Linked DNA regions of Homo sapiens: region 1 is linked to region 2. Evidence: promoter capture Hi-C in 16 types of primary human blood cells and fetal thymus (Javierre and others, 2016). All regions are on one chromosome and are shown on one strand. The core of a region is centred on a gene start or on the middle of the fragment in contact, and the rest is flanking DNA. Distances in the headings are between cores, read along the strand shown. Region 1 overlaps WDFY4 (WDFY family member 4). Region 2 holds the start of WDFY4 (WDFY family member 4).

Region 1 (5,264 bases), core at 2,381-4,880, 73 kb before region 2:
ACCTAAACTGGTGCATTTCCCAGGCCTTCCTCAACTCTGCCCAGCTCTTTCTTGGAACTTCTAAGGTATTTGTTCTTTATCTTGAGACTGCTGACTCCAACTTCGTCTTGTTCTGTTACTCCATGCCCTCACCCATACCAGTTTTCCTTCCCACAATGAGGCTGTTAGTTCTGCCGGGACAGACACTTGAGAGTCGCCTTGGCTCTTTGTCTCTCCATTACCTGTAGCCTCCTCTTCCTGAAAGCCTGTGATTCTGCCTCTGGACAGGTCTCTTAATTCCTTTCTTCACACCTTCTCACAGACACCACCCTAATCCAGCTATCACCACACATCACATGGACCGCAGGCAGAGACTCCTAACTCTTGCCCCTTGCCTCTTCCTCTCAACCCTCATTCCCTGTCCATTCTCCACCAAGCAGCCAATGTAATGTTTTTCACGCAAAATCTGATCATGTCACCCTCCACTCACGTGAGAGAGGCTTCTTGTTATCATTTACATTGGCAAGGCTCCCAGAAGCCTGCATGCCCCATTATCCCCATCATCGCCTGACCAGGGAGCCCTTGCTCCTGGCCCTTCCAATTTGCTCCTCCCCTAGCCACCAACAGCAGGCCCCTTCCCACCCAGTTCACACTAGCTACTCACCCTTCAGGTCTCTGCTTACATGTCACCATCTAGAGACGGCTTCCCTGACCTCCAACCCTTTATCTAAATTAGATTTAATGAGATCTGTTCCTGCCTCCATTCTCATTCTTCTACCTCAGCACCCTGATTTTTCCCTGTAATATCACTCGTCACAATTCATAATTTCATATTCACTTGTGAGCTCATTTATTTAGTCTGTCTGCACTGTCACTACCTCCTCATCCCCATCATAGAGGCGGGCTCTGTGGACAGTGTCTATGCTCATCTTGCTAGCTGTGCATGAGCTGCACAGAGCACAGGGCCAGGATCTCAGCCAGCATCCAGGAGAGAGATGAACATGCCAGGGAGCAAAGGACTTCCCACCAACGCCAGGTGCTGAGCTTAACACCTGGGACTTGCCTTACTATGGTTCAATTATTTTCAGTTGTTTTTTTGTTTGGCTGTTGTTCTTAGAAGGTAGCTTTGTTAACAGAAGTGATCTGTTTTGGATGGCCTTGCAAGGGTGGGCACAACTCAGTCAAGTGTCCAGGACACCCTGGTACTTTCCCACTATAGGTGTTTCCCATGGGGAGCTCTGCTAACGCAGGGCACTGAAGACACGGACAAAAGGAAAAAAGCTGTCTTGGGTCAGAAGGCATTTGAGAGATCAGTCATGTGAAGATGACAAAACACACATATTCAACACCAGGTACCTGTGGGTGATCTTCATGGTACAACCGAGGCAGCAGCCTCACCATGATGCACACGACCCCGGGATGCATGATTGCAGCATCTCCCTCATCCATCCTGCAGAGAGAGGGAGAGCCAGACATGAGACACGGACCTTCCAGTTTCTTTCTATTTTCACTGAGCTTCCTGGATCTTTCTTTCTAAGACAGATCATGGTACACATCCTGTCTTATTACCTAGATGACATTGAACTACTCCATCGAGCCTAATTTCCTCCAACTCTAAAAGGCATTGACAGTACCACACTTTCCCCCTACAGTCATAGAAGAATGCTTTTGTGCTCCAAGGCACAGTGCCTGACCCATAGTTGATGCTCAGTGAAGTTAGTTCCCTGGTTTTCTTCCCTTCCCTCCAGATACGTTGGAGATTGAGAAGCTCTGGTTTCATATTGAACACACACACACACTCACTCACACACACACACACACAGGCTTCTGGGTCCCTTCAAAATGGTGTAAGCACACTCAGCTCTGTCCCACCCCCTGAATACCGAATGCAACTAAAACACTTAGAACTCATGGAGCAGCTCTTGGAGGACTCTGGAAAGTAAATGGTAGCCGAGAAGGAAACCAAACTCAAGCACTATGAACTGGCAGTGAGCTTTCTGGGCTTCCCCTCTGCAGCATCCCCTGGTGTGAACTCACAGGTAGCCTAAAACTCGCAACTGTGCACAAGGTGTAGACATGATGGAAAGAGCTCCAAGAGAAGTCCTCTGTTTCTGGTCTGAGGAGCAGGAAAGGAGGTTTTACAGGTCACAGAGCATGGAGGAAATCCCCTGGGATTTTCTTTGTTTGGTTTCCCCATTCTTTCCCAACCCATCTTTCAGGCAATTCCCTCAGCATCAGCAACAGCAGCAGCAGCCAGGCAGACTCTAAAACTCTCAGTGAAGAGAAACTTTCTCTCTGACCAGAGGACCTGTAGTCCCAAGAGTGTAGGTAAAATTCCCATTGCTCTTTTCTCCTTTTCTCCCCTCACTGCATGGCCCCAGAGACAGATACCAGTGACACAGGGAAGAACAGAGAAACAAAAGCGCCAATTCTAGACAGAGCAGGAAGGGACCCCTTGGGAGCCAGCAAGTGTTAAGGAAAGGATGAAGAAGAGGAAGCTGAGGAAAATGTAACCACAAAGTTGTATATTAACCTCTGGGCTGAGTTCTGACTGTGTATGTGCATCTGACCCTAACTAGGAGGTAAACCACCACACACAACCAGTTACTGCATGAAGCAAGTGAGCGCACATCAAATCTCCCTGCAGTCTTTGAAAACTGAACTGATACTGGAACCAGAGAGTCCAGGGAAGATGGGCAGAAACTTGCAACCTGAACCTAAGTGGGCTAGTTCCCTACCTTAAGATATATATATATATATTCATTAACATTCTCTATAAGATGACAACAAAGACCAGAGTTCATAAGATAAGATTCAAAATGTCCAGAATACAACCTGAAATTGCTCAACATAGAATGAACCAGGGAAGTCTCAACATCTCATGTGGAAAAAGACAACCAACAAATGCCAATGCTGAGATGTCACAGATGTTGGAACTATCAGACGAAACCCTTAAAGCAGTTATTAACCCAATTCCAAGAAGTAAGAGTGAACATTTTTCAAATAAATGAAAAACAGAAAGTTTCAGTAAATAAATAGAAGCAATAAAAAAGAATCAAGTAAACACAACAACTGAAATTTGTTTAAACTCACTAAATGAGAACAATAGGAGAATGAGATGAGAGGAGAGTCCATGAACACGAAGATGGAGCAATACAAGTTGCCTAATCTGAACAACAAAAAGGAAAAAGATTACTAAAAATAAAGACAGACTCAAGGTCATGTGTAACAAAGGATCTAACATTTCTGTCATTAGAATCCTCCAAGGAGACGAGAAAGAGTATGGTATGAAAGAAAAAACGTTTGAGAAGTTTTTAGTACTTCTTTCTTCAAAGCTGGTGAAATACATAACCTTAAAGATTCAAGAAGCTTAGCAAAACCCAAATAAAATAAACAAAAAAAATTATGCCCAGACACAGCACAATCAAACTGCTGAACACTAAAGAAAATTTTAAAAATCTTGAAAGCAGCCAGAGAAAAACAACACATTACATTTAAGGGAACGACAATTTGAATAACCTTGGATTTTCTCATAAGAAAGCAGAAGTCATGGAAACAACATTTTTAAAGTGCTACAAAAATACACACAGAATTCCATATCCACATGCTTCCAGAATGAAGGCAAAATAAATGTGTTCCCAGATGAAGGAAGACAGATTCTTGCCATCAGACTTGTTCTAAGAATAATACTTTTAAAATTTCTTCAGATGGTAGGAAAATAATAACAAAATAATGAAAGGAAACTTCAGGGATGAAGAAAGAGCAACAGAAATGGTAAATATTTGGGTAAATATAATACACTATTATTGTTCTCTTCTTAAGTTCTTAAATTTAGGTATGATGGTTGAAAGTGACATTGTATTAGATGTAATACATAAGACAACCACAACAAAAATAGGGAAGGATAGAGGGAACGGCGTAGAGGTAAGCTTTCTATAATCCATTTGAAATAGTAAAATGTCAATTCTAAGTAGACTGTTAAAAGTTAATTAAGTATACTGCAGTCCCTATTGAAAGCACTAAAAAAAAAGGAGAGACAAAAAAGGAGAGTCAAAAAATTCAGTAGATAAACTCAAATTGAATACTAAAATATATTCAAATTGTCCACAAAAAGGCAGGCAAACAGAAGTAGAGGAACAAAAAAAGAGTAAAAAAAAAGAGAAAACAAACAATAAAATCCTGAACCTAAATTCAAACACATCAATAATTCAAACACATTAAAAACTGATAGACACTATTGTCAGAATGGAAAGAAATAAAAACAAAGCTATATGCCATCATTAAATATTGTGATATAGATAGGTTAAAAGTAACAGGATAGAAAAATTTATACCATCCTAACAGTAATCAAAAGAAAGCTGGTGTAATTCTACTCATATCAGGGAAAACAGACTTTAGAGCAAGGAAAATGACTCATAATAAACAGATTATATGATATGATGATTAAAAGAGACATAACAATTCAAAACGTGTTTGCACTTTACAACAGAGCATCACAATTCAGAAAGAAAAACTCATAGATCTGAAAGGACAAATGGCCAAATCCACAATTATAGTTAGAGAGTTCAACACTCCTCTCAGTAATTGTTCCTTCAAAGTCATAAACTACCTTCAAACGGTTTTCTTCGAAGCCACAAACTACCAAACTCAACAAGAAGAAATAAGTTGCCTAAATCATTTATAGCTATTACAAAAACCGAATATGTAGCTAAAAACCTGCCCACAAAGAAACCTTGAGGCTCAGTGTTTTCACCAGCAAATTCTACCATACATTTAAAAGAGAAATAACACCAGTTCTACACAGCTTCTTTCAAAAACACAAGAGAAGGGAACACTTCCCAATTCATTTTATAAAGCCAGAATTACCCTGATATTGAAAACAGAAAAACACAGTATAAAAAAACTACATTTCAGTATACCTAATGAACATAGGTGCAAAAATCCTCAACAATCAGCAAATAATACCTAGCTACATATAAAATAACGAGGGTACTATGGCCAATTGGACTACCCGTAAATGCAAGGCAAGTTTAATATTCAAAAATCAGTCAACATGATCCATATTAATAAAATCACATGATAATATCATTTAATGCATAAAAAGCATTTGAAAGATTAAAAATCTGCTCATGATAAAAAGAAATTCTCAGTAAATTCAAAGGAATTGTTTATAACCTAACAATGGGCATCTACAAATTCCCATAGCTGATGTTATATTCAATGGCAAAGACTGAAGACTTTCTCCCTAAGATTAAGAACAAGCAAGGATCTCTCCATTGCTATTG
Region 2 (4,948 bases), core at 549-3,048:
AATATGAAGAAATTTCAGAAACAAACTTTTGAACCAATTAGGCAAATTTTAAAAGAATATTTAATTCCATGTTTACAGAGTTCAACAACTTGCAATCATACATATATAGCGATTTAAATATGGGATGTAAAATTAGAAAAAGAAGCAAGGGAACAATAAACCCAAAATTCTGGACTGTTGCTGCTTCTGAAGAGGGAAGGTGAAAGATGGGCATGAAGAGGACCTCAGAGATGATGCTGATCTTTAAAAAAATCTAAGGTGTCAGCACACAGGGTTTATGCTGTTTTTATTACTTCTATCTTATTATGGTCTTTCTAAATTTTCTTTTCTTTCCTTCTTTTTTTTTTTTTTTTTTGGAGATGGAGTTTCATCGTGTTGTCCAGACTGGTCTTGAACTCCTGACCTCAGGTGATCTGCCCCTCTCAGCCTCCCAAAGTGCTGAGATTACAGGCGTGAACCACTGCGCCTGGCCGAAATTTTCTTTTCTTTCAACACAGAAAATCTTTCCAAGTTCATGAAAGAATAGCCCATGTGCTCAGGATGGACAGACAGGAAGGGCCTCCCTGACCTGACCCTGTTCCCTACCTCTCTGGCCAGAACCCCAGGCATGCCCCTTACCCGGCTCTGCCACACCAACCTCCACGAGGTCTCCTCCTCCAGACCCTTATCAAGAACACTTCTCAGAAACCCACAGGACTCGGCCTCCCTCACAGGTCCCCTCTCAGAAGACTAGAGCCATCCCCACCCTCCCAAGACCCCCACCCTACCTGCTATTCTCCCACCTGCTGAGCACCGTAGACCCCTGTCCGCTTTGACCAGAGCCTGGCAGGGCGTGGTTTCTCAATACCTATTTGTTAAATAACTAAATGAATGACTATACATAAACTCATATTAAAATTAGTGTGCTCCATGGAAAGGGTAATGCATAGAGCCCTTAGTTATCAAACCAGCCCCCCCACACTTTAGATGAGTTGGGACAAAGGATCGGTTTAGTGTTCTAGAAGTTTCATTTCAGGGGAAAAGAAGAATCAGTCCTTACTGAGCAGGTGGCCCTGCTTAGGCAGAAAATGCAGGCGTTTCAATGGTTTGCTGTAATAATTCAGATGAGGGAAGTGAGCCCAGGGAGGCACCTACTTACCAGAACCCAGTGGAGTAATGACAGGGCCGGGATAGACCAGCTCCCTCTGAGGCCCGTTGGAAATGGCCCTCCAACTCTGCACTCCTCAGAGGCCTATGAGGGAGCTTGGAGGGCGAGCCTCACTGTCCTGTCGGCCTGCTCTCTCCGCCCCCTCGACAACCAGGAAAGCCCGTGTCAGCCCTTCCCAGGGTTCCCTTCATAGCAGGACCCCGAGAAAGGACTTGACCTACCGTCAGAGGTCGAGGAGTGCTGCTGGAGCCCAGCCTGACTCCCAAACTTCAGCAGTGACACACACTCAGGCAGACCCAGGCCCTGGAGTGGCCCTGACCACATGGGCCCCCCACGCCACACACACTTCCTGCTCCCCAGCTCACCTCCTCTCCCACATTCACAAACCCAAACCAGGCACTGGGTCACATGTGCCCCATAGTCAGCCTCCCAGGAGGCAGCCAGTAGGCCCCACGCTGACAGGCGGCGCCCATATGCCCACCTCTAGGCTGGCCTGGCTGGGCCAAGAGCAAGGTGGCCTACCTGGAGGGGTGGCCGTCAGCGCCTGTAGACATCAGAAGGCATGGGCCCCCTATCCCCAGCTGCAGCCCCTCAGGCTCGGGGGAAGAGGACCCGGCCCCACATCGTCAGTCCTCAGCGCCGTTTCACTCTGAATCACTGGAGCTGGGTCTCTGCTCATTTCCTGGAGAAAGCAGAAGTGGAGAGCCGGCAGATGCCTGACTCTGCCCACTCTCCAGCCGACCACGGAGCTGCTGGAGTTCTGGCGGGTGACTTGGGTTCTGCAGCAAGGCCCCTTGGGGCTGGCTGTGCAGCCTCCGTGGTCAAGCGGTGCTGGTTGGGGCCAAGGACAAAATGGAAAGTACAGCCCAGCCCTAGAAGAGTAGGTCTGGATTCTGTGTCCCCTCTTCACTAGCCGTGTGACCACTGGTGCACACCTCTCCTCTCTGGGCCTCTGGCAAAATGAGAACAATGATGGTGTTAGGTGAATCTAATCAGAGGTGTGTTTAAGTGCACCCCTGGACATGGCATGGGTTGGGCAGCCCTCACCCCACCAAGCTCAGAGTTGCCCACTTGGATTTCTTCCTCCCCCATCCTCAGATAGAACTTGAACCACCAATGAGGGGAGTCCTCCTGCGGCCAACACTGAGGCAAGGATGAGAGGACATCTAAAACCATAGAATGGAAGTCTCTGAAACTCAGACTCCAAATTCTCATTCCTCTGAGTATATAAACTAGGCTGAATTATCCATGTCACCTATCCATAACGTCATCTCCACAGTACAAACAAGCATGTCCATTCACACACAATCCTGCTTGTGCTCTGTAAAAGGAGAATTTTGCCAAAGAGCAAGGGCACTTGTTAGCGCTAATGCCTGATCCTTGATCCTCAGTGCAGCTCATCGCTTGTCTCTAGCTCACAAAACCAGTGGACCATGCATGACTGACTGAGAGGCAGCAACAACATCACTTGTTATGACATGGAGTAAAGCTCCAAGATTGGTTTAAAGAGGAAAATAACATTTGTCACAAAACCTCAACCTCCACCAGTGCAAACTTGTCAGTAGACAGCAGCCAAAATAGGAGATCTATCCAGCTGCACTCCAGTCTGGACAGCAAGAGCGAAGCTCCGTCTCAAAAAAAAAAAAAAGAAAAAAAAGAAAAGAAAAGAGAAATTGAAAGGATACATGCAGTGCCAGCCAAGGGAAAGAGAAAACCTTAGAGAATTTGCAGTGAAGTGTTTGTTGTATATGATGAAAACCCCTCGTCATTGTCACCAATGAAATCATAAATAAAATCTACAAGAAGATATTGCCTGAAATCAGAGGCCTATGGTAAGAGCGGATTAGACAGAGGAACTTCCACAGAGGCAGGAAGGGTGGCCAGCATGGGACAGGCCAGGACCCCATGCCTGTGAATGCCCAGAGGAAGCGCGGAGAGTCTGTCATAGTGGGATCTCGCAAAGTCTGCTGGAGGGCCCACCTGCACCCAGGTCTCCTACCTTCTACCCACCCCAGCACCTTGCCGGGTAGCCAGCAGCAGGCAGGTAAAGAGCACTAAATTCAGAGCTAGAAACTCAAGGTTGAAATTCTCACTATCTTAACTGAGATAATTGACATCTTATTTGCAGAATGAATGAATGCCTTGTTAGAAGGAACAAATCAAATAATATTTGCAAGAGAGGTTTTTTTTTTTTGAGACGGAGTCTCGCTGTCGCCCAGGCTGGAGTGCAGTGACGCGATCTCGGCTCACTGCAGGCTCCGCCCCCCGGGGTTCACGCCATTCTCCTGCCTCAGCCTCCTGAGTAGCTGGGACTACAGGCGCCCACCACCTCGCCTGGCTAATTTTTTGTATTTTTAGTAGAGACGGGGTTTCACCGTGTTAGACAGGATGGTCTCGATCTCCCGACCTCGTGATCCGCCCATCTCGGCCTCCCAGAGTGCTGGGATTACAGGCGTAAGCCAGCGCACCCGGCCAAGAGAGTTTTTAAATACTGAAAAGGGCTGTGCAAATGCAAGCTATTATTAGTGAGAGAGTTGCCAAAGCTAAGACACTGAAGCAGCCAGGGCAACTATGAACTGCTAATGTAAATGTGTATTTTTGTTAAAGGGCAATGTAAGATTCTCTGATTTTTAAACAATTGCCCCAAAATGGCAGTTTTACTTCTGCACCCAGTTATGGTGGTGTAACTGGTATAGGACATACCCTCCCATTGAAAGCAACTATAGAATAGTTCAAATACACAAGATAATTGTTTTCAGGCATTGAATAGCAAGACTGTGATCCTTGAGATAAGGAAAACACACAAGGTGAGCCCCACAATTGCCCTGGAGTTTTTTCTAGTGATGCTTTTTCTGCTATGATGCAGGCAGGTGGGGCCCCAGAGACAGTAGTCTCCCTGAACTGAAAAGGTTTAAGTCAGAGTTCAAAGCTGCTGAAGGCTCTGGTATGTTCAGGGCAGGTTCCTGAGGAGAGTGTGCCTTGTGGGAACTCATTGTGTGTGCCCTTGGCCAAGGATTCCTATGTGTGCACAGGGTGAGACTCCAAGAGACCCAGCAGAGGTCAACTGACCCAAGGCCGAGCACTGAAGGAGGTAACAGAGAATGTGCAGTGCTTGGAATGTTGCAGTCGCATCCCATGGAGTGTGGAGAGACCTTGCTGAGCATTGTGGGACTTCACTTTACACCTCAGAGCCCTCACCCCACCAAGCTCAGAGCTGCCCTCTTGTATTCCTTCCTCCCCAATCCGCAGACCAAACTTGAAACACCAATCAGAGGAGTCCTCCTGCAGGCTAAACATGAAGGTAATGATGAGAGGAAATTTAAAACCATAAAACTCTGAAGCTCAGACTCCACACTGAAGAAGTAAGAACCACAGCCTAGAATAAAAGCCATAAAGTTGGAACAAGTTCAAAATTGAAATAAAATAGCTCCATGTGATAAGTTACTTTTATGAGTTAACTTGACTGGGCCATGAGGTGCCCAAACATTTGGCGAGACATTATTCTGGGCATGTCTGTGAGGGTATTTTTGGATGAGATGAACATTCGAATCAGTAGGCTGAGTCAAGCAGACTGTTCTCCCTAATATGCATGGGTGGTTTCCAATCGGTTGAAGACCTGAATAGAACAGAAGGCTGAGTAAGAGGACACTTTGGCTGCTTGACTCCTTGAGATGGAACATCAGTCATCTCCTGCCCTTGGACTGGAACACTTACAACACTGGCTCTTCTGATTCTCAGGCCTTTGAACTCAGACTGGACCTTACACCATTGGCTCTTCTGGGTCTCCAGTTTGTTGACTGA

Evidence for each region. The method cuts DNA at HindIII sites, captures the fragments that hold promoters and counts their contacts. A CHiCAGO score of 5 or more calls a contact.
Region 1: a fragment that was not itself captured here is called in contact with the fragment with the promoter of WDFY4 in region 2 in 1 of 17 cell types (total B cells); the score reaches 5.1 in total B cells.

Annotation. Positions count from the first base shown.
Region 1 is chr10:48,756,512-48,761,775 of GRCh38, reverse strand. It overlaps WDFY4 (WDFY family member 4), which reads right to left. Exons shown (of 62, transcript NM_001394531.1): 13 at 1,336-1,429. Among named protein-coding and RNA genes, the nearest start is that of WDFY4, 74 kb to the right of the region's middle. The HindIII fragment of the contact is 560 bases long and covers 3,351-3,910 here.
Region 2 is chr10:48,681,723-48,686,670 of GRCh38, reverse strand. It overlaps WDFY4 (WDFY family member 4), which reads right to left and starts at 1,798. Exons shown (of 62, transcript NM_001394531.1): 1 at 1,670-1,798. RefSeq lists enhancers at 1,008-1,548, 1,567-1,866, 2,797-2,876 and a silencer at 2,527-2,576. The HindIII fragment of the contact is 16,271 bases long and covers 1-4,948 here.